Linked DNA regions of Homo sapiens: all the other regions are linked to region 1. Evidence: promoter capture Hi-C in 16 types of primary human blood cells and fetal thymus (Javierre and others, 2016). All regions are on one chromosome and are shown on one strand. The core of a region is centred on a gene start or on the middle of the fragment in contact, and the rest is flanking DNA. Distances in the headings are between cores, read along the strand shown. Region 1 holds the start of TLCD1 (TLC domain containing 1). Region 2 holds the start of LOC101927018 (a long non-coding RNA gene). Region 3 overlaps PHF12 (PHD finger protein 12). Region 4 has its middle 9.6 kb from the start of MIR4732.

Region 1 (6,709 bases), core at 377-2,876:
ACGTCCAGCATGAGCAGGATACCCAGCAGGAAGGTGCCCAGGGTCCTCTGGTTCACATAACGCAAGAAGAAATGGGTGAGGTAGGCCTGAGGGGCCAGGCGGAAGAGAAAGTACATGACCAGGTTCACATACTTGTTAACCCGGTAGAGGAGATGATCCTGGGCATTACTGATTTTCATCATCATGCGAATGGTGAGGAAGATGTTGCTGACTTCCACCAGTAGTGTTAAGACACCCCCACCGACAAAGCTGCTCCAAAAGATGCCGGAGAAGAAGGCACCCATGGCCTAGAGGGAAGAAAGAATAGGAGTTAGGGAACCCAGATGCAGACGCTTTCCTGGAAGTTTGGGGGGTGTGGCTATCAGATTGAGGGCTGGAAAATCCCAAATTTCCCCCTGGAATAATAGTTTATAGTGGGTAAGATGCTTTGTTTTGTTAGTTCAACATTACTAGATTTTGATTGCTGCTCACAGCTGGCTGTGGGTGATGTTCAGTCTAAAGAGGCAGTGAAACCATGGGTTGCTGGCCTCAGTGAACAAGTACAGACTGCCAACCTCCAGCATCCTAGCATAAGAAGTAGCACACAGGTCGGGGGTGGGTGGTAAGAAAACACGGCCTTCTCCCAGATTCAGAAAGACGGAGCTGAGACTAGATTACTGACACCAGGCCTATACCACATAGTCTGCTTCTCTCTTACCATGACGTGATGGACAAGGTATTCCCAAGAGGCTCGCGTCTGTCCGCTAGCCACGATGTCCACCGTATCGTGGATGAAATACCCTAGTGGAGGGATGGGGCAAGAGATCATGAACTGAACAAGCAGCTTCCTTCTCCCTGTCCCCAATTTGCCTCCCGCTTCCTGGGCAAGACCTACCCGCAGAGAAGCAAACGAGCAAATAGCCAGAAAGTGACCACGCCGTCTCAATCTCCACTAACATGTCAGGAGTCTGCCATACACTGGAAAGGAGGGAAGAGGAGGCTCTGCATTTCGGCACCCTCAAGGACCATCAACTTCTCGGTTACCCTTCGCAGCCCCGGGGGATCCTGGGCTCGCGCTAGTGGCTGACTGGGAAGCTAAGAGTGGCTGGGCAAAACCCAAGAGCCTCCAGTTTCCCAGGGGCGATCCCCCTCCCCTGGGGCCACTGCGGCTTTTGGTTGGATAGGATACCAAACGGGATCAGGTGAGACTGCGTGGCCTCAGCCCGCCAGTGAGCGATGGGGGTAGTAACACAAGAGCCGGCCCCGGCTCCCCGCTCAGGATCCCCTGGCCACCTCATTTCCACAGTCGCTCACTCACCACAGCAGTGCCCAGATCCCCGACACAATGGAGTGAGCGAAGGAGACGAGCAGGTTGTGCCAGCGCCAGGTGCGCAGGGGGTCGGCGCGCACGTGCACGGGTAGGGGCAGGCGACAGAGCGCGCGCCGGAGCGCCCGGAAGGTCAGCGTGGCGCCCAGGAGCAGCGGCAGGGCGGGGTGCAGCAGTCGGGGCATGCTGGCCCTCCCTGCCGTCCGCCCTCGAGGCCGCCTCCTAGGTCTGTTCTGGGAACCGGGATCCCTCTCGGGCCAGTCCAGGCCGGCCGCCTCTCCCGCCGGCCGCCAGCCCCACACAGTTGGCGAAGCCCTCTAGGCCCCTTGGCTCCTCCTCGCCCTCCCTGCGAGGCCTCTGCCCCCGCCCCCAGCCGCCCGCGCCCCCGCCCCGCCCGCCTGCCCCCGCCCCGTCCGCCTGCCCCCGCCCCTCAGGCGCTGCTGCCGCGCGAGCCGGGTGTCCCCGTGGCCTCTCGGCCACCGGCCGGCTCCCGCGGACTTCGGGTAACTAGGAGCTGTGCTGGGGGCGTCGTCGCCGAGACACCCCTCGCTGGCGCCTCCCGACTGCCGACGGAGTCCCCGCTGCCCTCGCTCGCCTGGCCTCATTAACCCGCGTCCCCACTTTTCCCCGGGCCACCGGCTACCCCGCCCTGGGCGGGTACCGCGAGAGCTCTCTCCGCCCTCTACTTTCTGCGCAGAGCTGGACGGGACCCGACACGCCCACGCCCCCTAAGTCCTGGTCCTGGGGTGGGCTCCGGAGCCCCGCGTCCGACAGTGGTCTCCGTGCAGACCCAGTGCCCCTACCGCACCACTCGCAGTCTTCTGGCCGGAGTCCCGTGTTTACCTGTCCCTCCCGCGCCCGCGAGGTGGGCACTTGGGAACTGCTGAGTAACCCATCGCCACCTCTTCCCGCCGGCTCTTAAACTCCTGGGGCCGGGCGGCTGTCACAGTCCTCCCTCAGACAGTCCCGGCCCTCGGCCCGGCTCCCCGGAGGCTGGGCAAGCAAGACCTCCGATTTGCCGGGACAGCTGGAGTGACCCGCGCTCTCCAAGCCGGTAGCTTGCAGCAGTTGCGGCTCCTAGCCACTAGGTGTCAGCCTGCCCTCACTGTGGCGCGGGCTCCCCCTCCCGCCTCCGAGCGAGGCAGCTGCTTTCGGGGAGAGTTTAGGTATAAACTCTGGGCGAAAGGAGGAGCAGCTGAGAGCCAGCGAGGGAAGTTAAGCGGAGATGAGAGCGGGGAGGGAGAAGAGGGTAGTAATAGAGGAGGGGCGGGAAGAAGCGGGGGAGGGGAAAGGTGCTGCGGGCGGGAGGAAGAAGCCGAGAAAACCTGAGGCGCAAGGACCCAGGGACCAAGCCGTTTGAGTGTTTTCCTCCCCTATGGCTCCAAGGTTACACATTAACCCCTGTGGGACTCTTAAGTCAACCAAAGCCCAGTCGGTTTCTAGGTGAGAACACGGGTGTCCTGGGTGAGCGGCTTTCCCGCCCCTCCCCTTGGCTCACAGAGCTGCTCTGTCCGCCGGCCGACACCGGCCTGAGCCAGCGCCCTTCCAGCAGTCATTCCACGTGGGTGGGTTTGGATACCCTTGCGAGAGCCAGGACAGGGGCAGAAGATAAAACGCCCCTTTCCTCACACCCCTTGCCCACTCTGATACAGGGACGCTAACCTTCAGCTAGTGACCATCCTCCTCCTGAATACTGATGTTTTCTTTCTTTCTTTTTTTTTTTTTGAGATGGAGGCTCACTCTATCGCCCAGGCTGGAGTGCAATGGCACGATCTCGGCTCACTGCAACCTCCGCCTCCCAGATTCAAGCGATTCTCCTGCCTCAGCCTCCCGAGTAGCTGGGATTACAAGCGCGCGCCACCGTGCCCAACTAATTTTTGTATTTTTAGTAGAGACGAGGTTTTACCATGTTGGCCAGGTTGGTCTCAAACTCCTGACCTCAGGTGATCCGCCCGCCTCGGCCTCCCCAAAGTGCTGGAATTACAGGCGTGAGCCACCGCGCCTGGCCGAATACTGAGTTTTTCTAGAGCTCCCGCAGAGCAGGAGCCCGGGAGAACCTGGAATTAACCTCACTTCCGGTAAAGAGCCTAGCTGGTCACACTAACCAGCCCCCTGCCTCTAGGCTTTTGCCTTGAGCTCATTTCGGCGAAACCGCGGTCTTTCCTTCTCCCCTTGATGCTTTCAGGTACTGACCCACTACCGCCCCCATCTTCCCCCATGGGAAGATGAGCACTGAGGGCAGATTACCCTCCTGCAGCGCGTGTGTGAAAGGGGAGTTGAGAGTGCTGACGAGCGCGGCGCTCACTAGTCGGGACGGCCCGAGACCGTGTCATGTCCTCTTCAGGTGAATCAACTTGCACGACTTGGGATTTCCCCCGTCCCTCCCCAGGCAAACACGAAACCAACCCTGCTGCCTTCTCCCAGGAGCGCTGGTCTCGGTCGTTTTGGGTGTGTTTATCGTTTGCGTGCCAAGGAGAACCCGCTTTCTCCTGAAATAGCGTCACTCGTGGGCAAGAAGGGGGTCAATCTTCTCTTCCCACCCCTTCCCGGCCTGTGGGGTTTAACTCTCGGGAACGCGACATCCTTTTAGTCTAGCAAGCTTTACAAGGGCTGGGTATATGTGTGGGAGGGGCGGGTACCGTGCCCGCCATTGCGGGCGCGCCCTATTTTCTTGCCCTATTCTTGGACACTGCGTGGGGCAGGGTCGTGAGGGGAAAAGTGACGGCGTGTCGCAGCGGGAGGTGTGTGGTGCAGGCCCACAAATACGGACGCGTGGCGGAACCCACACCTAGGGCGCTGGCTCCGCCCCGCAAGCCGCTCGCCGTGAAGGGGCGGGGCCCAGAGTGGGTGGGTCCGCGCACGCGCCGCGTGGGGGACGGAAGTGAAACTCTAAGAAATGAGATGGAGAAGTACGAGCGGATCCGAGTGGTGGGGAGAGGTGCCTTCGGGTGAGCCAGGGCTCTGGGGGAGGAAACTGCTAGGGGATAGGGAAAATAAGCCCCAATTCCGCCCGCGAAGTCGCCGCCCGCCTAATCCCGCCCCAAGGCGTGAGCGCCACTCTGGGAAGCCCCGCCCAAGCTTCCGGTCCCAGTCCCCCGGGGAGACTCCGCCTCTACGGAGGCCACGCCCCTGACAGGCCCATTGCTCCGCCCACTGAGTTATGTTAGCTTCTTTATTCATTCGTTCAACAAATACTGAGTGCCAGCTATGTATGTCAGGCTTTGGCCGCTGGGTATATAGTTAGAACCGGAACGGGCGTGGTCTTTTCCCTCTTGGAACTTACTGACTGTGGGAAAGTTATACAATAAACAAAACATTATGAAGTAAGAAGTTATAGCAGTTATGAAGTGTTATTAGCAGGTTGTGAGGATAGAGTACATTACCAGTGAGAATACTTATATGAGATGGTCAAGGAAGAATTCTCTGAGAAGGGAGATTGCTTGCTTGCTTGATTGATTTTTAAGACAGAGTCTCCCTCTGTCACCCCGGCTGGAGTTCAGTGGCACGATCTTGGCACACTGCAACCACCACCTCCTGGGTTCAAGCAATCGTTGTGCCTCAGCCTCCCGAGTAGCTAGGATTACAGGCGTGCGCCACCATGCCCGGCTAAATTTTTTGGATTTTTTTTTTTTTTTTTTTTTTTTGAGGCAGTCTCACTCTGTCGCAGTGGCGCGATCTCGAGTGCAGTGGCACTATCTCAGCTCACTGCAACCTCTGCCTCCCTGGTTCAAGCGCTTCTCCTGCCTCAGCCTCCCGAGTAGCTGGGACTACAGGCACGCGCCACCATGCCCAGCTAATATTTTTTGTGTTTTTAGTACAGATGGGGTTTCGCCATGTTGGCCAGGCTGGTCTCAAATTCCTGACCTCAGGTGATCCGCCCGCGCCGGCCTCCCTAAGTGCTGGAATTACAGGCGTGAGCCACCGCGACAGGCCAGAAGTGAGATTTAAGGCCAAGACTTGAGGAATGAGGACCAGTAGTCTGCAGGTGAAGGGAGAACTTTTCAGGCAAAGGAAATAGCGTATGTGAAATGTCTCACATGGGAAAACAGAGCATTCAAGAAACCGAGAAAGACTAGTAATAGTTGGAATGTAGTGGGCAAGGTAGAGAATGGTATAAAATGTAATTGTCGAGGGCGGGGACTAGATTATGGCCTGATAACCTGAGATAAAAGGTTCATTTGCCACAAACGGTTTTGTTTTGTTTTTGTTTTTGTTTTTGAGACGGAGTCTTGCACTGTCGCTCAGGCTGGAGTGTAGTGGCAATCTCAGTTCACTGCAATCTCCGCCTCCCGGGTTCACGCAATTCTCCTGCCTCAGCATCCTGAGTAGCTGGGACTACAGGCACACGCCACAACAACCGGCTAATTTTTTTTTTTTTTTTTTTTTTTTTTTTGTGAGACAGAGTCTCCTCTGTTGCCCAGGCTGGAGTGCAATGGCACCATCTTGGCTTACTGCAAGCCCCGCCTCCCGGGTTCAAGCAATTCTCCTGCCTCAGCCTTACAGGCGTGTGCCACCATGCCTGGCTAATTTTTTGTATTTTTAGTAGAGACAGGGTTTCACCATGTTGGCCAGCCTGGTCTCGAACTCCTGACCTCAGGCGATCCACCTGCTTCTGCCTCCCAAAGTGTTGGGATTACAGGCGTGAGCCACCACTCCCAGCCACCAGGAAGGGTTTTAAAGAGGAAGAGTGATCCTGAGACTTGGCAGAGTTTTCTGAAAAGGGGCAGGGTGCAGTGGCTCACGCCTATAATCCTAGCACTTTGGGAGGCCGAGATGGGCAATTGCTTGAGCTTAGGAGTTAGAGACCAGCCTGGGCAACACAATGAGTCCCCCTGTCTACAAAAAAATAAAAAAATTAGCCAGGTATGGTGGCATTGGCATGTGCCTGTAGTCCCAACTACTCAGGAGGCTGAGGTGGGAGGATCACTTGAGCATGGGAGGTGGAGGCTGTAGTAAGCTGAGATGAGACCCCTGCACTTCAACTTGGTTGACAGAGTGAGAACCTATCTAAAAAAAGAAATAATACAAGAAAAAAAGAAAGAAAGGAAAGAAAGAAGGGGCCGGGCACGGTGGCTCAGGCCTGTAATTCTAGCACTTTGGGAGGCCGAGGTGGTTGGATCACCTGAGGTCAAGAGTTCGAGACCAGCCTGGCCAACACAGTGAAACCCCATCTCTACTAAAAATACAAAATTTAGCTGGGTGTTGTGACGGCTACTTGGGAGGCTGAGTCAGGAGAATCGCTTGAACCTGGAAGGCAGAGGTTGCAGTGAGCTGAGACTGTGCCATTGCACTACAGCCTAGGCAACAAGAGTGAAACTCTGTCTCAAAAAAAAATAAAAACAAAAAGGCCGGGCGTGGGGGTCATGCCTGTAATCCCAGCACTTTGGGAGGCCGAGGCGGGCA
Region 2 (6,709 bases), core at 2,052-4,551, 200 kb after region 1:
CTTCCACTACGAATCATGATAGGGCCTGAATGTCAGGAGCTGATGAAGGCCAGAGGATGTATTATTTCAATCCACTTCAGTGTAAATACAAGAGGCCAAAGGGGAGTAGTGCTGGTGATGGTGGAAAAGGCAGACTTGGCACTGGTAGGCAGAGGTCCATGTGAAAGGTAAGAGAGGCATCTCAGGAGAAGTGCCATGTTAGAAAAGGGCATACTGTAATCCCCAACAAGTAGCTCTCCTTCTAGAAAACTGATGAAGAGGTAACAGAGGTTTGGAATGAGAGAATTTGGTTCAAACATTGGTTCTGTCAATACCTTTGAGTCCTTGGGAAAGTTAATCTACATTTTTGAGCCTCCGTTTCTTCCTTTCTAAAATGGAAACCTACGGCCAGCATTCGGTATCCATCTATGGCTGGATGGATAGATAATGGGATAACGTAATTAAAACACCTGGCACACGATGGGCACTAACATAATATTTCCTTTTCTCCACCGTCTTTACCCCTTTTCCTTCAGCTCCCCTAAACCTTTTCAGGTCCAGCTTTTTTGAGTGGCAAGTTTGAGAGGGCTCCTGGCTGGCAGGTGCCTCTAACAGGCCCTGCTCTAACCTAATTAGGGATGCACAGGAAAGGATCTTGGAAGGTGGAGAGGCTGGAAGACAGCCTGGTTTATGGAGAAATTTAACTACAGCTGTGGTTAGGTGGTTGACCTGGCTTTGGCTTGCTTTTAAATATGAACCCTTATGCACGTATTTGAAAAATAATGTCTGCTTGTTTACTTTCTTTCTTAAAGGCTGAAACTGTTACACACATAAACCACAATCTTAATCATCTCATCCTGTTTCTGCAACCAAGGAAGTCATCATTCATTGTGACATCATGTTCGGGGACCAGGCAAATAGAGGTGAGGTCACAACATAGGAAAGTTGCTTGGTGTATAATTAGTGTGGGGAGCACAGGGGGGTGGATTACAATGCACAGACAAATTCTAATCCATAGCCTGTAATTTGAGGGTTGGGTCAATCATAATTTGGGTGCAAGCACACCTACTTCCTTTTTTAATAAGGGAGAATTTAGCTCTTGTTACCCACAAGAGTTCTCAAAGTAGAAAATAATAAACCATGTTCTTGAAGCCAGTACTGAATTATCAAAGCTGAAGGAAGGGAAGCTAAAGAAAGATTAGGCAACTTGGGGTACAAATGCGTTCAAAATCCTCTCCGTCAGTATGCCAAGTCTCTGGATACCAGTGACTTATTTGCCCTGGGGTGAGAGAAAACTCCATTTTCCATCAAGCTGGAGAAGCAGCCTTTGTTTTTCAGCCATGGATAAGGCCACTTATTAGGAGGACAACAAGAAGGTAAGACTACTCCTGTCACTAGTGACTAAACATGGCTCAGTAAGTTAACACACCTCTTCTGCCCATTTCAGCAGCCCATGTTTGGATTTTTAGGCCCTACTGGATTCCAAACAGTCACCATGGGAAGAGTGGGGTGATTCCAGGGCTGGAAGAGACAAGAAGAAGGGACAAGAATGCCTTCAGGGCTAGGCCGTCTTAGCTCTAGCATATCAGTGCTCTGGATCAGGCTTTCTGGACAGTCTTCAGAAAGCAGCATTATTACCTTTCGGCGAACAGTGCACCGGTGACACATCCACTCTCCAGGAGGCAACATTTCTTCACTCAGTGGAGGGTTACTGTGGGGAACAGACAAGGGCAAGACTAAATAACTAGCCCTTTGAGGCAGTAGGAAAAGCCTAGCTAGGTTTGCATGTTCCTAAACTCCTATTGTGGCCAGTCCTGCAGGACTGCTAGGGTTGTCTCCTCCAAAATGCCTAAGTCAGCATCACTCATAATAACCTAAGGAGTGACCATCCCTTCCCACACCTTAGAGAGAGAAGCCAAATCCAGAGCTATTAACACTGGGTTTGTAGGGAAAGGTATAATAAAATAACTGAGAGGTCCTCCACACTGTTTTCTTAAAGCCTGTTAGTGTAGAGCCAAGCTTTTCTAACTGCTGTTCAAAGCCCTGTCACATGGTCCCACCGTTCCATCTTCCCAGACCCCTTCAGGTGCTCTTCCCACTATTCAAATGGAAGACTTCCTATTTCTTCCTCTAGAATACTCTTCCTTTAGAAAGCTATGCCTGTCAAAACTCTATTCATCCTTTCATACCTGCCTCAATCAGCTGTGATGGATTAAAGACAGCTGCAAATTATCTGCTCTGCCTCCCATCCACAGGTAGTCCCTTTCCCTCCTCTTGAATTGTGCTTGTCTTATGACTTGCTTTGACCACAGAATGCAGCAGAGGTGACAATGTTGCAACTTCCAAAGCTTGGCCTTAAGAGATCTGCAGATTCTATTTTTTAAGAAATATGCTTGGAAAGTTCCATCTCAGAGCCCTGCTGTCATGCTATGAGAGAGGACATGGAGGAGACAAGGTATTCCAATCAACAGTTTTGGGCTGGGCGTGGTGGCTCACACCTGGAATCCCAGCACTTTGGGAGGCCGAGGCTGGTGGATCACTCGAGATCAGGAGTTCAAGACCAGCCTGGCCAACATGGCGAAACCCCATCTCTACTAAAAATATAAAAATTAGCCAAATATGGTGGCACATGCCTGTAATCCCAGCTATTTGGGAGGCTGAGGCAGAAGAATTGCTTGAATTTGGGAGGTGGAGGTTGCAGTGAACCAAGATCACACCACTGCACTCTAGCCTGGGCAACAGAGTGAAACTCCATCTTGAGAAAACAAAAAACCAGCTTCAGCTGAACTCCAAGCCAACACGCAGCAGCAACTACTGCTATGTGAGTGAGTCATCTTGGACTTACCAGTTCAGTGAAGCCTCCAAATGACTGCAGTCCCAGCCAACATCATGTGAAACAGAAAAACCACCCAGCAGAGCCCAGGCAACCCTCAGAACTGTGAGAGATAATAATGAGTTTCTGTACCAGGCCAATGAGTTTTGGCGTAGTTTGTTATGCAACAATAGATAACCAAACAGCTTTTCCATGAGTTCATATTACTCCTGTATCTTGGACCTCTTGCTGCATGGGTTAGTTCTCTTTTGGCACTTCTCATGCTTTGCCCATTTCAGCAGTTCTCTTACTTATTTTATTAGAGGGACTAGGACAATGATTGGATCTCTTCCCTCCTTGTATTTTTATAATACAGAGGTTGTGCACACAGCAGATCACCTGAGATTGGAAGTTCAAGACCAGCCTGGCTAACACGGTGAAACCCCATCTCTATTACAAATACAAAAATTAGCTGGGCGTGGTGGTGGGCACCTGTAATCCCAGCTACTTGGGAGGCTGAGGCAGGAGAATCCTTTGAACTCGGGAGGCGGAAGTTGCAGTGAGCCAAGATTATGTCATTGCACTCCAGCCTGCGTGACAAAACTCCATCTCAAAACAAACAAACAAACAAACAAACCAAACCAAAAAACAGGCCAGGCATGGTGGCTTACACTTGTAATCCCAGCACTTTGGGAGGCCGAGGCAGGCAGAACACGACGTCAGGAGTTTGAGAACAGCCTGGCCAACATGGTGAAACCCTGTCTCTACTAATAATACAAAAATTAGCCGGGTGTAGTGGCACGCGCCTGTAGTCCCAGCTACTCAGGAGGCCGAGGCAGGAGAATCGCTTGAACCTGGGAAGTGGAGGTTGCAGTGAGCCGAGACAGTGCCACTGCACTCCAGCCTGGGCGACAGAGTGAGACTCTGTCTCAAAAACAAAACAACAACAACAACAACAAAAACCACATTTATGCTTAAGAAATTCCTACCATTGAGTTCTTGGCTAAGTCACCTACTTGGAATGGTATGCAGGAAATTTTTCTTCAAATAATGGGGGAAATGGTAAAAAAAAAAAAAAATTGAGTATTTTTTTTTGAGATGGAGTTTTGCTCTTGTTGCCCAGGCTGGAGTGCAATGGTGCGATCTTGGCTCACTGCAACCTCCGCCTCCCATGTTCAAGCAATTCTCCCGCCTCAGCCTCCTGAGTAGCTAGGATTACAAGCATGCGCCACCATGCCTGGCAAATTTTTTAGTATTTTTAGTAGAGATGGGGTTTCTCCATGTTGGTCAGACTGGTCTTGAACTCCTGACCTCAGGTGATCCACCAACCTCGGCCTCCCAAAGTGCTGGGTGTACAGGCGTGAGCCACTGTGCCCAGCCAAACTTGAGTATCTCAGAGCTTAAAGCTATGCTGTTTTACCATTTCTACATAAAATAGCACTTGACTTGGCAAATTTTCTTAGCTCCCTGTTTCCCCAGAGCCCCAAGCTTACATGTCAGATGCCCACCAAGGCTTCACAGCTCATTACTTCCCTTCCTCCCTGTTTCCTTAGTGAAATCTCAGGAGGATGCTTACCAGGAATCAGGAAACTGGAAAAACAATGGCCTGCTGGGACAGATCTCCAAGCCCTAGAGGACCACAGGTGAATGTCACCTGTAAGTCTCCGCTCATTCTAGCCAATGTAATTCTACAAAAGGCCACATCTAAACTACTGAAATGCATGCAAGTAATTTTCAAAGGCCTACAGACTCTGCTATGCTTCAGTAGCTGTCCTATCAAAATTAACCCTGAAGGGTGTCACTTCTGATTCTGTTTCTCATCATTTCTGTTCATCTGCCCACTGGCTTTGTACCAAGATATCCTACATCAAACATTTAAAACATTTAAAGTAGAGAAGATAAGACCCCTGTGGCCAGAACCCTCTTCTTTCTCCAGCTCAATCAGTTGGCCGGCTCCCTACACAGACCATACTGTTTCTCATCTGTGTCTCTGCTCACTCCAGGGCTGCTACCCACAACTACACCACTCTTCCCTAACTACTTCACCTGGTAAGCTCTTTATCTTTTGAGACTCAAGTCACGTATTCTTTCCAGGAAGCTTTCTCTGAAAGTCTCTGGTTCCACAGAGCACTTCTGCACCACACTGTATTCAAACCATTACATGTCTGAATCCCCTTCTCCATGCCTCATTTGCCTTTGTACCTCCACACCCTGTACAATGCCTGGCATGTAGTAAGTACTCAATAAAGCTTTAAAGAACTGGGGAACACTAAGGAATGGGCTTCTAGGAAGTGAGTGTAATCCTTCAAAGCTATGAGGGGAGGTAATGCAATGGGGCAGGCAACTGTTTTGTGGGTTAAATCACACATGAAATTACTTATGTTTTCTAAGTTACTACACAATGAGACAGAAGAGGAGTCCAAGTCCATACTGGCAAGCCTGTACTTACTGAACCATCCCACCTCTACTCATTTTAATCTTCTTTAAACAATTTGATTTTCAATATCGTTTATCTTAACACAAGGTAAAATGCTTAAACTTGTATTAAGAGGCTCTCAGAAGTAGCATCTTGCTAGTTTCTAAAGGATCACTTTTAGAGTTACCAAGTTTAAGAACACACTTCTGGCCGGGTGCAGTAGCTCATGCCTGTAATACCAGCACTTTGTGAGGCCGAGGTGGGTGGATTGCTTGAGCCCAGGAGTTCAAGACCAGCCTGGGCGACATGGTGAAACCCCACCTCTACTAAAAATACAAAAAATTAGCCAGGTGAGGCGGCATGAGCCTATAGCCCCAGCTACTTGTGGGGCTGAGGTGAGAGGATCACTTGAGCCTGGGAGGTAGAGCCGTGATCGTGCCACTGCACTCCAGTTTGGGCAACAGAGTGAGACCCTGTCTCAAAAATAACAACAACAAAAAACAAACAAACAAAACCACACATTCCTCAGAACTCTAGATAATGACCACAGGCTCCCTTTGTTAAGCCTGCCCTAAAGTATGGATAGGGGCTATGAATTTAGGGAGTAGTCCAGGGAAACCCAAGCATTGTCTCCCAGATGAAGACAAAACATTTAAAAGACTGAGGCCATCATTCCTTTTTTTTTTTTTTTTTGAGACGGAGTCTTGCTCAGTTGCCCAGGCTGGAGTGCAGTGGCGCGATCTTGGCTCACTGCAACCTCTGCCTCCAGGGTTCAAGCGATTCCCTTGCCTCAGCCTCCCGAGTAGCTGGGATTACAGGTTGCCCGCCATCACACCCGGCTAATTTTTATATTTTTAGTAGAGATGGGGTTTCACCATGTTGGCCAGGCTGGTCTTGACCTCCTAACCTCAAGTGATCCACCCACCTCAGCCTCCCAAAGTACTGGGATTACAGGCGTGAGCCACTGCACCTGGCTGAGGCCATCACTTCTTAAGATCTGCTTTTTTTTTGTTTGTTTTGAGATGTAGTCTCACCGTATCACCCAAGCTGGAGTTCAGTGGCGTGATCTCGGCTCACTGCAACCTCTGCCTCCTGGGTTCAAGTGATTCTCCTGCCTCAGCCTCCCGAGTAGCTGGGATTACAGGTGCCTGCCCCCATGTCCAGCTAATTTTTGTTTTTTTTTTAGAGATGGGGTTTCACCATGTTGGCCAGGCTGGTCTCGAACTCCTGACCTCAAGTAATCTGCCTACCTCGGCCTCCCAAAGTACTGGGATTACAGGTGTGAGCCACTGTGCCTGGCCAAGATTTGCTGCTTTCTTAGGGACAGAACATGCATCTTGAAATAACAAATTTGAAATGATGGTATCTTGGGAGAAGGCAGTAATATCTAAGATTAGATGGATAGGAAAGAAAGGTCTTAGAAAATGATCATCATAGGCATAGCTGGAACACAAGAATCACCCATCATAAAGCTTTCTCATGACCATGTTTCCTCTCTGCTT
Region 3 (6,709 bases), core at 2,991-5,490, 180 kb after region 1:
ATGTAGTACTGTACACGGTTTTTAAAAACATTGAAAAAATGTCATCACTAGATGTATTTACACAAAATCCAAATACACTTTTCCTTATTTGAAATAAAATAGATGGACAGCCAGAAAAAGAATTCATTTCTCATTTGTCCATAATACACAGTAGCTACCTGTAGTGCAACCGCTGCAGAAAGGGAAAATAACGTGGAGGGTGGGAACCATGGAAGGAAGGTGGGTAGCGATCTTTATATTAAATAAAACAATGATATTGTATAGATTTTGCTGTATGAAAACTGTATTTTTTCTTTTAATATAAAACTATTGTCACTGCCACAAAATAGAACAAGTTTCTGATTATTTTACAATGGTGGGCGAGGGGGAGGGAGCAGGAGGTGGGTGGGGAAGGGTTTTGTGTTGGAGGAAGTGTCCAGACCCTGGGTCTTTCCCTCCCTGCCCACGCTGTTCCTCAGCTCAGGTCTGCCGCTTTCCCATGAAATGTTGAGTACAAATATATGTGCAAATGCCCCCTAGAACTTGAGAAAAGAAAAAGGATTTTTAAAAAACAGTCAAAAGGTTTTCTTCATTTCATGCAAAGATTGTAGTTGAAGGGTTTCTGGTAGAGTATAGAAAACACCCGGGCTTGGTTTGTGTACATTTTTGCATTGCAGGAGTCTTGGGTGGGTGTACAGGCCAGTGGCGGGGTAGCCGCCAGTCCTAAGGAACAGAGTTGGAGCGCAGCACAGGGCCCTGGTGGGGCTTGAGAGAGAGCTTCTCGGCCAAGACCCCATCCTGCAGCAGGCTGGCATCGCCTTTGGGCTGTTTGGTCGCAAACTCAGTGATGCTGAAGACAAACTGCAGGCAGCCCAGCTTGATGTAGCTGCCATGGTGCAGTAAGGCTGTGCCCTCCCAGCCGGCCCCACTGCCCCCAATCAAGCTCGAGCTGCTGGCTTTGCAATTGCAGGGTCTCCGCTGCGGCCCCTGGGCCTGGGAACTCATCATGGCTGCCTCCTCACTTGGCTCTTCGTCCTGTTTCTGGTGCCGGCGGCGCCCTGGGAAAAAGGGGGATGGTCACAGAAGAGGAACAGTGAGCAGCCAACCCATGTGGGCTGTTTGCCAAGGTTGGGCTCCTGCATCTCCCCATTCCAACTGCTGCATGACTAGGGAGGAAGGATGCTCAGAAAGGGTTGGTGGAGTCTGAAGTCCCCACAGGTGTGTACACACATGGGGGTACTCAGCACTTGCTTCTCTGTGGCCTGCCCTGGGCCCACGAGGAAGTAGAGCTTGGCCAATAGGACTGGGAAGGCAAGAGACAGACCATGGGCAGCAAGTCAGAACCACCCTGACTGGGGCCTCAGCTTTGTGGCCACAGATCTCTGCTCCAACTTACTGATGACACTCTGCACTTTGGCAACAATACTGCTTGGGGGGGTTGGCGGGGTCTTCTCCGAGAAGTCACATGAATACAGCACATTGTCCACCGTTGTCCCATGCTCACTGTAGTTTAACAGCTCATAATGTTTGGTATTCTGAGGAGGAGGAGGGGAGATAAGATGTGTGGTCTGCTGTGTGGGGCCTGGGGCTAAGGGGAGAGAGGACATATGGAGAAGGCCGTGCTACTCTACCTAGAGAGTCCTTACTTGCCTCCCCAGTCATGGCCCCTGTCCTTTCAGAAGGGGGCTGGAGACACCTCCTCAGGGAAGCTTTCCTTCTGGTGTCCCACACTCCCTACTCTCCCACTCCTTCACTCTGCCCTCTCAGCACCGCTCCTCTTGGTATGATACTCACTGGCCCGTGATGATAATGAAATTCACAGGGACACACCCACAAGGCTTGGCTTCCTTCTATGCTGGTCCCCTCCCTTGCTTTAGGGTAGGCTCCCTCTGTTGTGCCTGTGACTAACCTCAGGAAAAATGGTAGCCCTGCTCCTGGGAAGCAGGTAGCTTCCCAGGTAGGATGCTATTTCACATCAAGACTCTCCTCCTCCAGGAATGACAGGGAGGGAAGAAAAAGAGAGGACCCCCAATCCCTCTTCCCTCCCCTCAGGGCACTGAACAAAAACCTACTGCCTGGGAGAGGCCTCAGGTTGGGAAAGCTCCCTCCCACCGCATCTCCGGCCCTCACCTCATCGTAGAATATGCAGGCATGTTTCCCGGACACGTAGTTACAGTGACCATAGTTTGTAAGGCACACATCCATGTCAGCTCCTGCAAGGTGGCAGGAGTAGAGGAAAAGGAAGGCAGAGAACAGATTGTAAGGTGCATGTGTCGGGGAGGTAAGACAGGGAGAGAGTTAGCTTCTGGGTTGGCACTAGCAGAGACTTCAAGGGTGAGTAGCTCAGGGCCCTCCCCTTTTATTTTTGAACAAAAACTGTTGTCTTTTCCAAGCTCCTGATAAAGAACAGCTGTCCCTGCCAGCTGATCTGCTTTAGAACATGTGGCTGCTACCCAGAAGGGAAGAGTGAGCTACTGAAGAGGATGGGATATTTCTATGAAAATACAACATCGGGGTGCAGAGCCTAGAAAATCTTATCACCTTAAAGAAAGGGAAGTTTCTAGGGTAAGGGCTAATCTGTCTGTCCTTCTGTACCAGATACAGAGCTATCGGTCTCTAGGACTTTTAGGGAAAACAAAACAAAACAAAAAACAGATACAGGGCTAACTGAAGATTGGGTATGTGTGAGTCTATCACTCTTTCAAAGACCACCAGGGACAAAGCATCTGCCTTCTCCTTAGGTTCTTCCCTGCAGTGTTTAAAGTGCCTCCCTGGGCAGTAGTCAGAGCTGACTTTCATCTCTGCTGTTGCAACACTGGGCAAAGACAAAGCAAAAGGGCCTGAACAAGGGAAGACAAGGAACTGATTGTCTCTTTTATTTTTGAGACAGGGTCTCACTCTGTTGCCTGGGCTGGAGTGCAGAGGCACAAAAAGGATCACTGCCTGGACCTCCCAGCCTCAGGTGATCTTCCCACCTCAGCCTCCCAAGTAGCTGGGACTATAGGCATGTTAGCCCAGCTAATTTTTTATATTTGTTTTTGGTAGAGATAGGGTTTCACCATGTTGCCCAGGCTGGTCTCGAAGTCCTGGGCTCAAGTGTTCCTCCTGCCTTGTCCTCCCAAAGTGTTGGGATTATAGGCGTGAGCCACCGTGACTGGCTGATTGTCTCTATTCTTAGTTTCTCTTGTCTAGCTATCCACTGATTTAAAGCAGTCAACTCTGGAAAGGGCTTCCCTCACCCCTTTCTAACTTCTGTGGGTAAGGGTGTCAGTCTTTAGGGCTGAACAGATTCAGTGTCTCTCCCAGCTTCCTGGCTGGCTCACCTGTCCCGATGTAGAGGGTTCGATAGCACATGTTCACAGCTCCTCCCAACCCTAAGAGGGGGTAGAACACAGCTCGGGCCTGTACCTCCTTTCTTTGCACTACAAGACAAACATAGGAATAGGATCATTCAGAAACTCAGATCCTGTGATCCAAACATAAACCAACAAAATCTGGACCTTTGGCTCATGGCCTGGAGAAAATCCCGCTGGATGACTCATCTTTCCAAACTCACATCCAACACTGAGCTGCGGCAGGGTAAGGCTTTCTCTCCCCACCCACAGCATTTCCAACACAGGGTACAGAGGACCATCTTTGAAGATGGTCAGAGAAGTCAGAGATGACAGTACTGTGTAAGTTCCTGGGCTCCTGGCTGGCTAATCCGGGATATTCCAGCTGGTACTATAGGGAGAATATGGAAAAACAGACGGCATGGACCAGTGTTTCTCAAACTTTAATGTGCATAAGAATCGCCTACAGATCTTGTTGAAATGCAGATTCTGATTCAATAGGTCTGAGGAGGGGCCTTAGCTCTGCATTTCTTTTGCTGTTTTCTTTAAAAATAGGCAAAAAACCAATGCATTGAGCTCTGCATTTCTAACAAGCTCTCAGGGGCTGCTGATGCTGCTGGTCTGCGAACCACACTTTGAAGCAGCAAGGCTCTTAATGGCCAATGCTCAGACATATCTGAAACAGAGTTAACCACTTGGGGAAAATTTCCAGAAGGTTGGCCTAGTGTTATTCTATTTCTCAACTTGAACTTGAAAAGTTCCCTCTTGGGAAGCCATTCTTTTTAAAATTTTATTTATTTATTTACTTATTTATTTGGAGACAGGGTCTCACTCTGTCACCCAGGCTGGAGTGCAGTGGCACAATCATAGCTCACTGCAGCCTTGACCTCCCAGACTCAAGCGATCCTCCCATCTTAGCCTTCCAAGCAGCTGGGATTACAGGTGTATGCCACCATGCCTGGGTAAGTTTAAAATTATTTGTAGAGATAGGGTCTCACTGTGTTGCCCAGGCTGGTCTCCAACTCCTGGGCTCAAGTGATCCTCCCGCCTCAGCCTCCCAAAGTGCTGGGATTACAGGTGTGAGCCACTGCACTCAGTCGGGAAGCCCTTCTAATTCAAATATTTGAAAGCAAGTAAGCAGAAAGTACACTACATATACCCAAAGGTACTGGTAGCTGCTTTGCTGTGTCTCGAAGTGGACTTATATATGAAAGAAAGTTACAGCAGACTTCCCCAAGTCTGATCAGAAAGCTGTGGTTGCCATCTTGTTCCTGCTCTCTTCAGAAAAAAACCATGGTGCTTTATTAAGCCCATGAAAAGCACACAAGGAGGTTTGAGATACTGGAAGCTCAGATTCTCCATGGAGGCAAGGTGACCATTCGCACACGTAGAGGGGAGATCTGATGATGTGGTGACAGGTGTGTACATGCGCACCTTCTATGTGGTGCCCTCCAGAAGCCAGCTGATGTGTCCCGACACTGCCCGGTGAAGGTTGGACCCGGGAGGGGAAAAGCTGATGTATTCTCTGCAAGGCCAGAAACTTGATCAGCTTCTCGTCCAGCATATTTATCTCGATTTCTATTAGCCAAAGAGAAAGATTAAAAAGCAGCTGAGATGGGAAGTGGAATGTGGAAGCAAATCAGGGTCACAGAGCAAATAGTTTGGCATTTCTAAAATCCAGCCAAGTGATTTTTACTCAAACAGCATTGAGTGCAGAGCGTACAAGGATCTGCAGCTGGGCATCTCACTTGCCATTTGCAGTGAGATGGGCCCCAATGCAGCCTGTGCAGCTGCCTCCTGTAGTTGGGTGGACTGATTTTAATTAAAGTGCCCCTAGAAAGGCAGAGTGGAATAAACCACTTGCCTGTCTGTGGGGGAGGGCCTGGATGTCTGATATTGAGACTTGAACTTTCTACCCACCTTGTGTTCACAGAGATCAAGATCTGTCCCTGTTCTCCTGGACTTTGGGGGTTTCCCACAGATGAGGTCCCTCCTTTGGGAGTGAGGATCTTAGTTTTATTCTGCAAATCCAGGTGATCTGCCTAAAGTGATTTTGTTCTCGTCTCACTGGTTCAGCTTGGCTCTGTCCTCCCTTCATCTTTGATTATGTGTATATGCACATGTAGAAGGCAGAGCTACAGAAGGAGCTTTCTTTTTCACCCCGCCCCCCCATCCAAAAGGATACTCCTCATTCCCATCTCCCCCTAGGCCTCTGGGATCAGGTGTCCCTTCCCTCCCTTTCTGAAATGAGCTGAATGCTGTATAGGAATAGCACCTTCAACATAGCAAACGGTGGAACAGCAGCAGCTCATTCACTCACCTCCATTGACATCCATAAATGCTCGAAGTGAGTTGGTGAGGTCCACCATGGCAGTAGAGTTGGCTGGGAAAGAGGGTACGGTTAAAGCGCTTCCTATGGATAACGTGCCGGGGCTGACCTTGCCATCTGGGGACGGAGCAGGAAGACTGTTACTTACGTCGCCTGAGGGAAACCCACCGTCCAATCCCCCACTGCTGAGACAGGTCTGGATTTCGGACCCAAGGTGATGTTCCCTTCTTGATTCTCAACCCATAGGCTCTGGAACTCCTAGAGCTAAAAACGTGTGGTGAGGAAGGGCAGATGGAACGACAAAGCACCCAGGCACGCAGGAGTCTCCAGAGCACTGAGAACCACTGAAATCCACTGCTCTGGGGAAAGTGGTGGGGCAGCTTCATTCTTTGGGCCATGACCACCTCCCTGCTGCCTCTACTTTAAAATAAGTAGTGCCTGCCCTTATAATTCTTGCCTACTGAAATATGACTCACGGCGTGGAGAATCTACCCACGCTGGTTTTAAGCGATAAACAGAGATAGGAAAACAGCCTGGGAGCGGGGCCATCCTGGGACCAGGGGCTCCCATGCAGAGAAATCACAATCATCTGGTTACCGAGACTCCCAGCTGACTAGGAGGCCGGCTTCAGTTCAGACGGGAGAGACCACAGAGGGTTCCGGCAGCATCTGAAACCTGGTTCAGATGCTGGGGTCAGCAACTTCAAGGTCCTGAGTGCTCTCTGGGGACAGCTGAGAGAGCAGGTCCACAGTAGGCCAAGTACAGACCTGAAGGACCGCCCTTTGGCATGTGGCCTGAGGGCACGCTTCTGGGCTAGAACAATCCCTGTGGGCATCCCACTCTACAGCTCCTCTGAAAGACAGTGCTGCTGTCTAGCCCTGCTTCCTGACATGGAAGTTCATCAGATTAACTCTTTCTGAGAATATGCATCAGGCATGAATCCATTCTTTTGTGTGGATCTGACAATACTGAGGCCATCACGCAGAACCTCAGGCTGATCATAGTAATTCCAGAGAGCACCCTGCCTTCTTTTAAGGTGACAGAACAAAACAGGCAGAGGCCTAGGCCT
Region 4 (6,709 bases), core at 1,961-4,460, 140 kb after region 1:
TGCATGCCATTTTCACGATAGAGAAACTAAGGTTCAGGGAGGAAGTGCTTGGCCCGAGTCTTATAGTGAGCAGAACTACAGCCCTGTTCTCCAGACCCCACACCCTGGCTCTATGCACAAACCCGCTAGGAATAGGGTAGATTTTGTGTCTTTGTGAGGCCTTTTTGAGTTTCAATGGAATCAAACCTAAGTTCTGCCAGTTACCAGTAATGTGATTCTGAGCCTCCTTATCTATTATAGGGATGAGAATAATACCTGCCTCACAAGATCCTTCAGAAGATTCAGTAAAATCTAGCTGGGCACGGTGGCTCACACTTGTAATCTTAGTACTTTGGGAGGCCAAGGTGGGTGGATCACTTGAAGTTAGGAGTTGGAGACCAGCCTGTTCAACGTGGCAAAACCCTGCCTCTACTAAAAATACAAAAAAAGGTCGCTGGGTGTGCTGGCAGGCACCTGTAATCCCAGCTACTCAAGAGGCTGAGGCAGGAGAATCACTTGAACCTGGGAGGCGGAGGCTGCATTGAGCTGAGATTGCGTCGCTGTACTCCAGCCAGGGCGACAGAGTGAAACTCCATCTCAAAACAACAGCAAACAAACAAACAAGATTCAGTGAAATCGTGTAAGAAAGCCCCTGAATGATGCAAGGATTCCTTCTGTGTTTCTACTTATGCAGGCAGACTCCACTCATCTATCGGACCTCTTTTTTTTTTTTTTTTCCAGAGACTGGAGTGCAGTGGTACAATCACAGCACGTTGCAACCTTGAATTCCTGGACTCAAGGAATCCTCCTGCCTCAGTCCCCCAAGTAGCTGGGACTGCAGGCCCATACCACCACACCCAGGAAAAAATTTGTTTTCTCGCTCTGTCGCCCAGGCTGAAATGCAGTGGCACAGTCTTGGCTTAATGCAGCCTCTGCCTCTGGGTTCAAGAGATTCTCCTGCCTCAGCTCCCGAGTAGCTGGGATTACAGGCATGCACCACTCCTGGCTAATTATTTTTTGTATTTTTAGTAGAAACGGGGTTTCACCATGTTGGCCAGGCTGGTCTCAAATTTCTGACCTCCAGTGATCTGCCTACCTTGGCCTCCCAAAGTACTGGGATTACAGGCATGAGCCTGTACGTGAGCACCCGGCTCCACGTATTTTTTTTTTTTTTTTTTTGAGAGGGTGTCTTGCTCTGTTCCACAGGCTGGAGTGCAGTGGTGCAATCTCGGCTCACTGCAACCTCCATCTTCCGGGTTCAAGCAATTCTCTGTCTCAGCCTCCTGAGCAGCTGGGATTACAGGTGTCCGCCACCACGCCTGGCTAATTTTTGTATTTTTAGTAGAGATGGGGTTTCACCATCTTGTCCAGGCTGGTCTTGAACTCCAGACCTCGTGATACACCCGCCTTGGCCTCCCAAAGTGCTGGGATTACAGGCATGAGCCACCACGCCTGGCCTGGCTCCAGGTACAGGTAATATATATATATATTTTAAGACCGAGTCTCGCTCTGTAGCCAGGCTGGAGTGCAGTGGCGTGATTTGGGCTCACTGCAACCTCTGTGTCCTGGGTTCAAGCTATTCTCCTGCCTCAGCCTCCCAAGTAGCTGTAACTATAGGCGTGTGCCACCACACCCAGCTAATTTTTGTATTTGTATTTATTATTTTTTTTTGAGACGGAGTTTCGCTCTTGTCACCCAGGCTGGAGTGCAGTGGCACGATCTTGGCTCACCACAACCTCCTCCTCCCATGTCCAAGTGATTCTCCTGCCTCAGCCTCCAGAGTAGCTGGGATTATCCGCACGTGCCACCACGCCCAGCTAATTTTGTATTTTTAGTACAGTCGGGGTTTCTCCATGTTGGTCAGGCTGGTCTTGAGCTCTCGACTTCAGGTGATCCACCCACCTCGGCCTCCCAAAGTGCTGGGATTACAGGCGTGAGCCACTGTTCCCGGCCCTAATTTTTGTGTTTTTAGTAGAGATGGGGTTTTACCATGTTGGGCAGGATGATCTCTATCTCTTGACCTCATGATCTGCCCACTTCGGCCTCCCAAAGTGCTGGGATTACGGGCGTCAGCCACCGCGCCCGGCTCCAGGTAATTTTAAAACAAAATTTTTGTAGAAGCCTGGTGTGGTGGTTCATGCCTATAATCCCAGCTCTTTGGGAGGCTGAGGCGAGTGGATTGCTTGAGGCCAGGAGTTGGAGACCAGCCTAGGCAACATGACAAAATCCATCTCTACATAAAATACAAAAATTAGCCTGGTGTGGTGGCATGTACCTGTAGTTCCAGCTACTCAGAAGGCTAAGGTGGGAGGATCGCTTGAGCCTGGGAGGTTGAAGCTGCAGTGAGCCGTGATCGCACCACTGCACTTCAGCCTGGGTGACAGAGTGAGACCCTGTCTTAAAAAAATTTTTTTAGGGCCAGGCGCAGTGGCTCAGGCCTGTAATCCCAGTACTTTGGGAGGCCAAGGTGGGTGGATCACGAGGTCAGCAGTTCGAGACTATCCTGACCAATGCGGTGAAACCCCGTCTCTACTAAAAATACAAAAAAATTAGCTGGGCATGGTGGTGGGCACCTGTAATCCCAGCTACTTGGGAGGCTGAGGCAGGAGAATCTCTTCAAACCAGAAGGTGGAGGTTGCAGTGAGCCAAGGCTGGACCACTGCACTCTAGCCTGGGCAACGAGAGCAAAACTCCATCTCAGAAAAAAAAATTTTTTTTTTTAAATAGAGATAGAGGCCAGGCACAGTGGCATACGCCTATAATCCTAGCACTTTGGGAGGCCGAAGCAGGCAAATCACTTGAGGTCAGGAGTTCAAGACCAGCTTGGCCAACGTGGTGAAACCGTGTCTCTACCAAAAATAGAAAAATTAGCTGGGCATGGTGGCAGGCGCCTGTAATCTCAGCTACTCGGGAGGCTGAGACAGGAGAATTGCTGGAACCTGGGAGGCGGAGGTTGCAGTGAGCCGAGATCACGCCACTGCACTCCAACCCAGGCTGACAACAGTGACCAAAAAAAAAAAATAGAGATGGGGGTTCTCACTGTGCAACCCAGCCTGATCTCAAACTCCTGGCCTCAAGCAAACCTCCCACCTCAGCCCTTAAAAGTTCTGGGATTACAGGCATGAGCCACCATGCCTAGTCATCTAATCCCTTGTTTAGCCTCTTCCACACACTGCTCTTGGGCAGCTGCAATCCAGCAACAATCCCCTCTCCTTTCTCTGACCTCCTGCAGTTTATGAGCCAAGCCTTCTCATGAAGCTCACTTGTCCTGAAATCACAGGCCCATGTTTGGCTTGAACCAGAGCTTTCGCCTTCACAGTTCAGGGGTTGTACATTAGGGTTCTTGCTTCCTGTCTAGGAGTACTGAGAGCTAGCAGGAAATAAGCACAGCTTCTGACTGACTTGTCAGAGTCCGGGCTCCACCACACTACCGCTGAGTGATTCTGGCCCCTGCACCTGATCTTAGAGTCTTGGCTTCCTCAACAGTAAAATGGGGTTCAGGCCAGGTTCAGTGGCTCATGCCTGTAATCCCAGCAGTTTGAAGGCCGTGGTGGGCGGATCCCTTGAGGTCAGGAGTTTGAGACCAGCCTGGACGACATGGCGAAACCCTGTCTCTACTAAAAATACAAAAATTAGCCACGCGTGGTGGTAGGCGCCTGTAATCCCAGCTACTCGAGAGGCTGAGGGAGGAGAATCTCTTGAACCTAGGAGGCAGAAGTTGCAGTGAGCCGAGATAGTGCCATTACACTCCAGGCTGGGTGACAGAGTGAGACTCTGTTTCAAAAAAAAAAAAAAAAAAGGCCGAGCGCGGTGGTTCACACCTATAATCCCAGCACTTTGGGAGCTTGAGGCGGGCAGATCACGAGGTCAGGAGTTCGAGACCAGCCTGACCAACATGGTGAAACTCCATCTCTACTAAAAATACAAAAATTAGCTGGGCTTGTTGGCACAGGCCTGTAATCCCAGCTACTGAGGAGGCTGAGGCAGGAGAATTGCTTGAAACCGGGGAGGCGGAGGTTGCAGTGAGCCGAGATCGTGCCACTGCACTCCAGCCTGGGCGACAGAGCAAGATTCTGTCTCAAAAAAAAGGGGTTCAAATGCTTTCTTTTCCATGCTGGTGAAGATGAAATGAGACAGTGAAGGTGGATAGTTCTAACCTAGAGCCTGGCACATGAACAACAGGAGCTCAACAGATGCCAAGCTCCTTCCTTCCTGGCTTTGCAGTGGGCTTTCCCTGTTTACTCTCTCCAACGGGGCATACACCTGTGGGCGCTCGTGCTCACTCATACCCGTGCACGTACACGTGATAGTGTCCCCCTTGCACCCCTGTTGAGACACATACTGAGTCAGAAATGGAAATTTTCCTCTCAACACCTCCCTAACTCTATTCATCAGCTTCCAGTTCCTATTCTCTGGGTCAGTGGGGACTCTCAAGTCCAGACTTGGGCCATGACCTTTCCAGTCTCCTGGTACAGTTCTTTCTTTTTTTTTTCTTTCTTTTTTTTTTTTTTTTGAGACGGAGTCTGGCTTTGTCCCCCAGGCTGGAGTGTAGTGGTGTGATCTCGGCTCACTGCAAGCTCCACTTCCCAGGTTCACACCATTCTCCTGCCTCAGCCTCCCGAGTAGCTGGAACTACAGGTGCCCGACACCACGCCCGGCTAATTTTTGTATTTTTAGTAGAGATGGGGTTTCACCGTGTTAGCCAGGATGGTCTTGATCTCCTGACCTCGTGATCCGCCTGCCTCGGCCTCCCAAAGTGCTGGGATTACAGGCGTGAGCCACTGCGCCCAGCCAGGTACAGTTCTAAAGGTGGCTGTTGAGTGGAGCCTGAGTGTCCCTACTGCCTCAAATCCTTCCCGCCATCAGCCAGGCCTTTACATTCCTCCCTCCCTGCCAGGACAACCTGTTTGCTTCACAGCTGCTGTGGAAAAGATAGGCAGCCTGGATTATCAAGACAGACAAGGCTCCTTGCTGACAGTTCCCACCCACCCAGAGGCAAGCGTTCCTGAGCCCTTAACCCCCTCTGTGCTGGGCCTTCAGGCCTAGGGACTGGGCACAGCAGGGAAGATGGGCAGGCCTGGTACCCTCTATATCGAATTCCTAAGGCTGGTGGGGTCATGAGCACAACAGGGTAGGAAACAGCATCACCTGCACACTCCAGGTGCCCATTCTATATACTAAGCCCTTTCCTTCCTGGGTTCATGGAAGTTCATGGTAAACAGGGCCTTAGCAGGCCTCTGAAGGCTCAGGCAGAATGCTCTATACTCTCCACTCTCTCTTCCTGAGGCTGGTTCCAGGCTCTGGGGACAGAGGCCTGGCTTTCTCCATTCCAGGGGTCCACTGGCATTAGTACAGGTGCTGAGGCATCCCCTCCTCACTCCCTACCCCCACATCATTGCCCCTTCCTCCTCTCCAGCACCCTTCAGATCTCTTTCAGCAAGGCCCCTCTCATCTTCTTGCTGAAGTCAGTGTCCCTGACACTAAGGCCAACCTGGACCATCTCCTAGTTGGGTCTCATTGCAGCCACTCAGGCCTCCTTTTCCTGAAGGTCAACAGGAAGCAGTGAAAAGACCAGTAGTGGGCCAGGCATGGTGGCTCATGCCTGTAATCCCAGCACTTTGGGAGGCTGAGGCAGGTGGATTGCTTGAGCCTCAGGAGTTCGAGACCAGCCTGGGCAACATGGTGAAACCCCATCTCTACTAAAAATACAAAAATTAGCCAGGCGGTGGTATGCAATTGTAGTCTCAGCTACTTGGGAGGCTGAGGCAGAAGAATCGCTTGAACCTGGGAGGTGGAGGTTGCAGTGAGCCGAGATAGTGCCACTGCACTCCAGCCCAGCAGAGCGGGACTCCATCTCAAAAAACAAACAAACAAACAAAAATTAGCCAGGTATGGTGGTGCATGTCTGTAGTCCCAGCTACTCAGGAGGCTGAGGTAGGAGGTTCACTTGAGCTTAGGGAAGTCAAAGCTGCAGTAAGTCGTGATGGTGCCACTGCATTCCAGCCTAGGCGACAGAGAGAGACTATCTCTCTATCTTGAAAAAAAAAAAGTCTGCTCCCTCAAATGTTTTTCCCATTTCAGTAAATAACAACTCCGTTCTTCCGTTCTTCCAGATGGGACGAAGATCTTGGAGGCAATTTATTTTCTTTTTTTGGACATGTTCCAGATTTTGATCTTCACGCTGGTTAGAAAGGTATATGCATTTATGAAATTTTATTATATGTAAAATTCACAAGATTTGTACCCCTTTCGCTATGTAAGTTATACTTCCAATTTAAAAGCAACCACTCAATTCCCTATTTTCTATGTATTAATCACAATTTTTTTTGTTTTGTTTTTTGAGACAGGGTCTTGCTCTGTCACCCAGGGCAAAATGCAGTCACCCAGGGCAAAATGCAGTGGCATGAACATGGTGTGTCCAGAATTGGTGGGTTCTTGGTCTCATTGACTTCAAGAATGAAGCTGCAGACCCTCGCAGTGAGTGTTACAGTTCTTAAAGATGGTGTGTCCGGAGTTTGTTCCTTCTGATGTTTGGACGTGTTCGGAGTTTCTTCCTTCTGGTGGGTTCATGGTCTGGCTGGCTTCAAGAGTGAAGCTGCAGACCTTCGCAGTAAGTGTTACAGCTCTTAGGGCGGCACGTCTGGAGTTATTGGTTCCTCCCGTCCGGAGTTGTTCATTCCTCCCGGTGGGTTCGTGGTCTTGCTGGCCTCAGGAGTGAAGCTGCAGACCT

What was found. Contacts are between HindIII fragments. The CHiCAGO score rates a contact against its expected background, and 5 or more counts as called.
Region 2: a contact is called between a fragment that was not itself captured here and the fragment with the promoter of TLCD1 in region 1, in 10 of 17 cell types (activated CD4 T cells, total CD8 T cells, naive CD4 T cells and 7 more). The highest score is 13.4, in activated CD4 T cells.
Region 3: a contact is called between a fragment that was not itself captured here and the fragment with the promoter of TLCD1 in region 1, in 17 of 17 cell types (activated CD4 T cells, endothelial precursors, naive CD4 T cells and 14 more). The highest score is 31.7, in activated CD4 T cells.
Region 4: a fragment that was not itself captured here is called in contact with the fragment with the promoter of TLCD1 in region 1 in 5 of 17 cell types (endothelial precursors, megakaryocytes, erythroblasts and 2 more); the score reaches 7.2 in endothelial precursors.

Annotation. Positions count from the first base shown.
Region 1 is chr17:28,724,607-28,731,315 of GRCh38, forward strand. It overlaps TLCD1 (TLC domain containing 1), which reads right to left and starts at 1,627. Exons shown (of 4, transcript NM_138463.4): 1 at 1,298-1,627; 2 at 875-957; 3 at 698-780; 4 at 1-287. The coding sequence starts at 1,491. NEK8 (NIMA related kinase 8) reads left to right here and starts at 4,182. Exons shown (of 15, transcript NM_178170.3): 1 at 4,182-4,254. The coding sequence starts at 4,208. RefSeq lists enhancers at 439-1,162, 526-825, 946-995, 1,163-1,886, 1,887-2,610 and 3 more and a silencer at 1,406-1,935. The HindIII fragment of the contact is 5,537 bases long and covers 1-3,903 here.
Region 2 is chr17:28,925,374-28,932,082 of GRCh38, forward strand. PHF12 (PHD finger protein 12) reads right to left here. Exons shown (of 15, transcript NM_001033561.2): 3 at 1,618-1,690. LOC101927018 (a long non-coding RNA gene) reads left to right here and starts at 902. Exons shown (of 2, transcript NR_110803.1): 1 at 902-1,355. RefSeq lists enhancers at 654-703, 724-903. The HindIII fragment of the contact is 1,952 bases long and covers 2,326-4,277 here.
Region 3 is chr17:28,905,481-28,912,189 of GRCh38, forward strand. PHF12 (PHD finger protein 12) reads right to left here. Exons shown (of 15, transcript NM_001033561.2): 10 at 5,632-5,757; 11 at 4,746-4,889; 12 at 3,303-3,401; 13 at 2,110-2,192; 14 at 1,376-1,514; 15 at 1-1,037. The coding sequence ends at 703. Among named protein-coding and RNA genes, the nearest start is that of DHRS13, 5.8 kb to the left of the region's middle. RefSeq lists an enhancer at 366-866 and a silencer at 3,251-3,545. The HindIII fragment of the contact is 5,109 bases long and covers 1,687-6,709 here.
Region 4 is chr17:28,868,003-28,874,711 of GRCh38, forward strand. No RefSeq gene overlaps it. Among named protein-coding and RNA genes, the nearest start is that of MIR4732, 9.6 kb to the left of the region's middle. RefSeq lists an enhancer at 3,565-3,634. The HindIII fragment of the contact is 7,165 bases long and covers 1-6,709 here.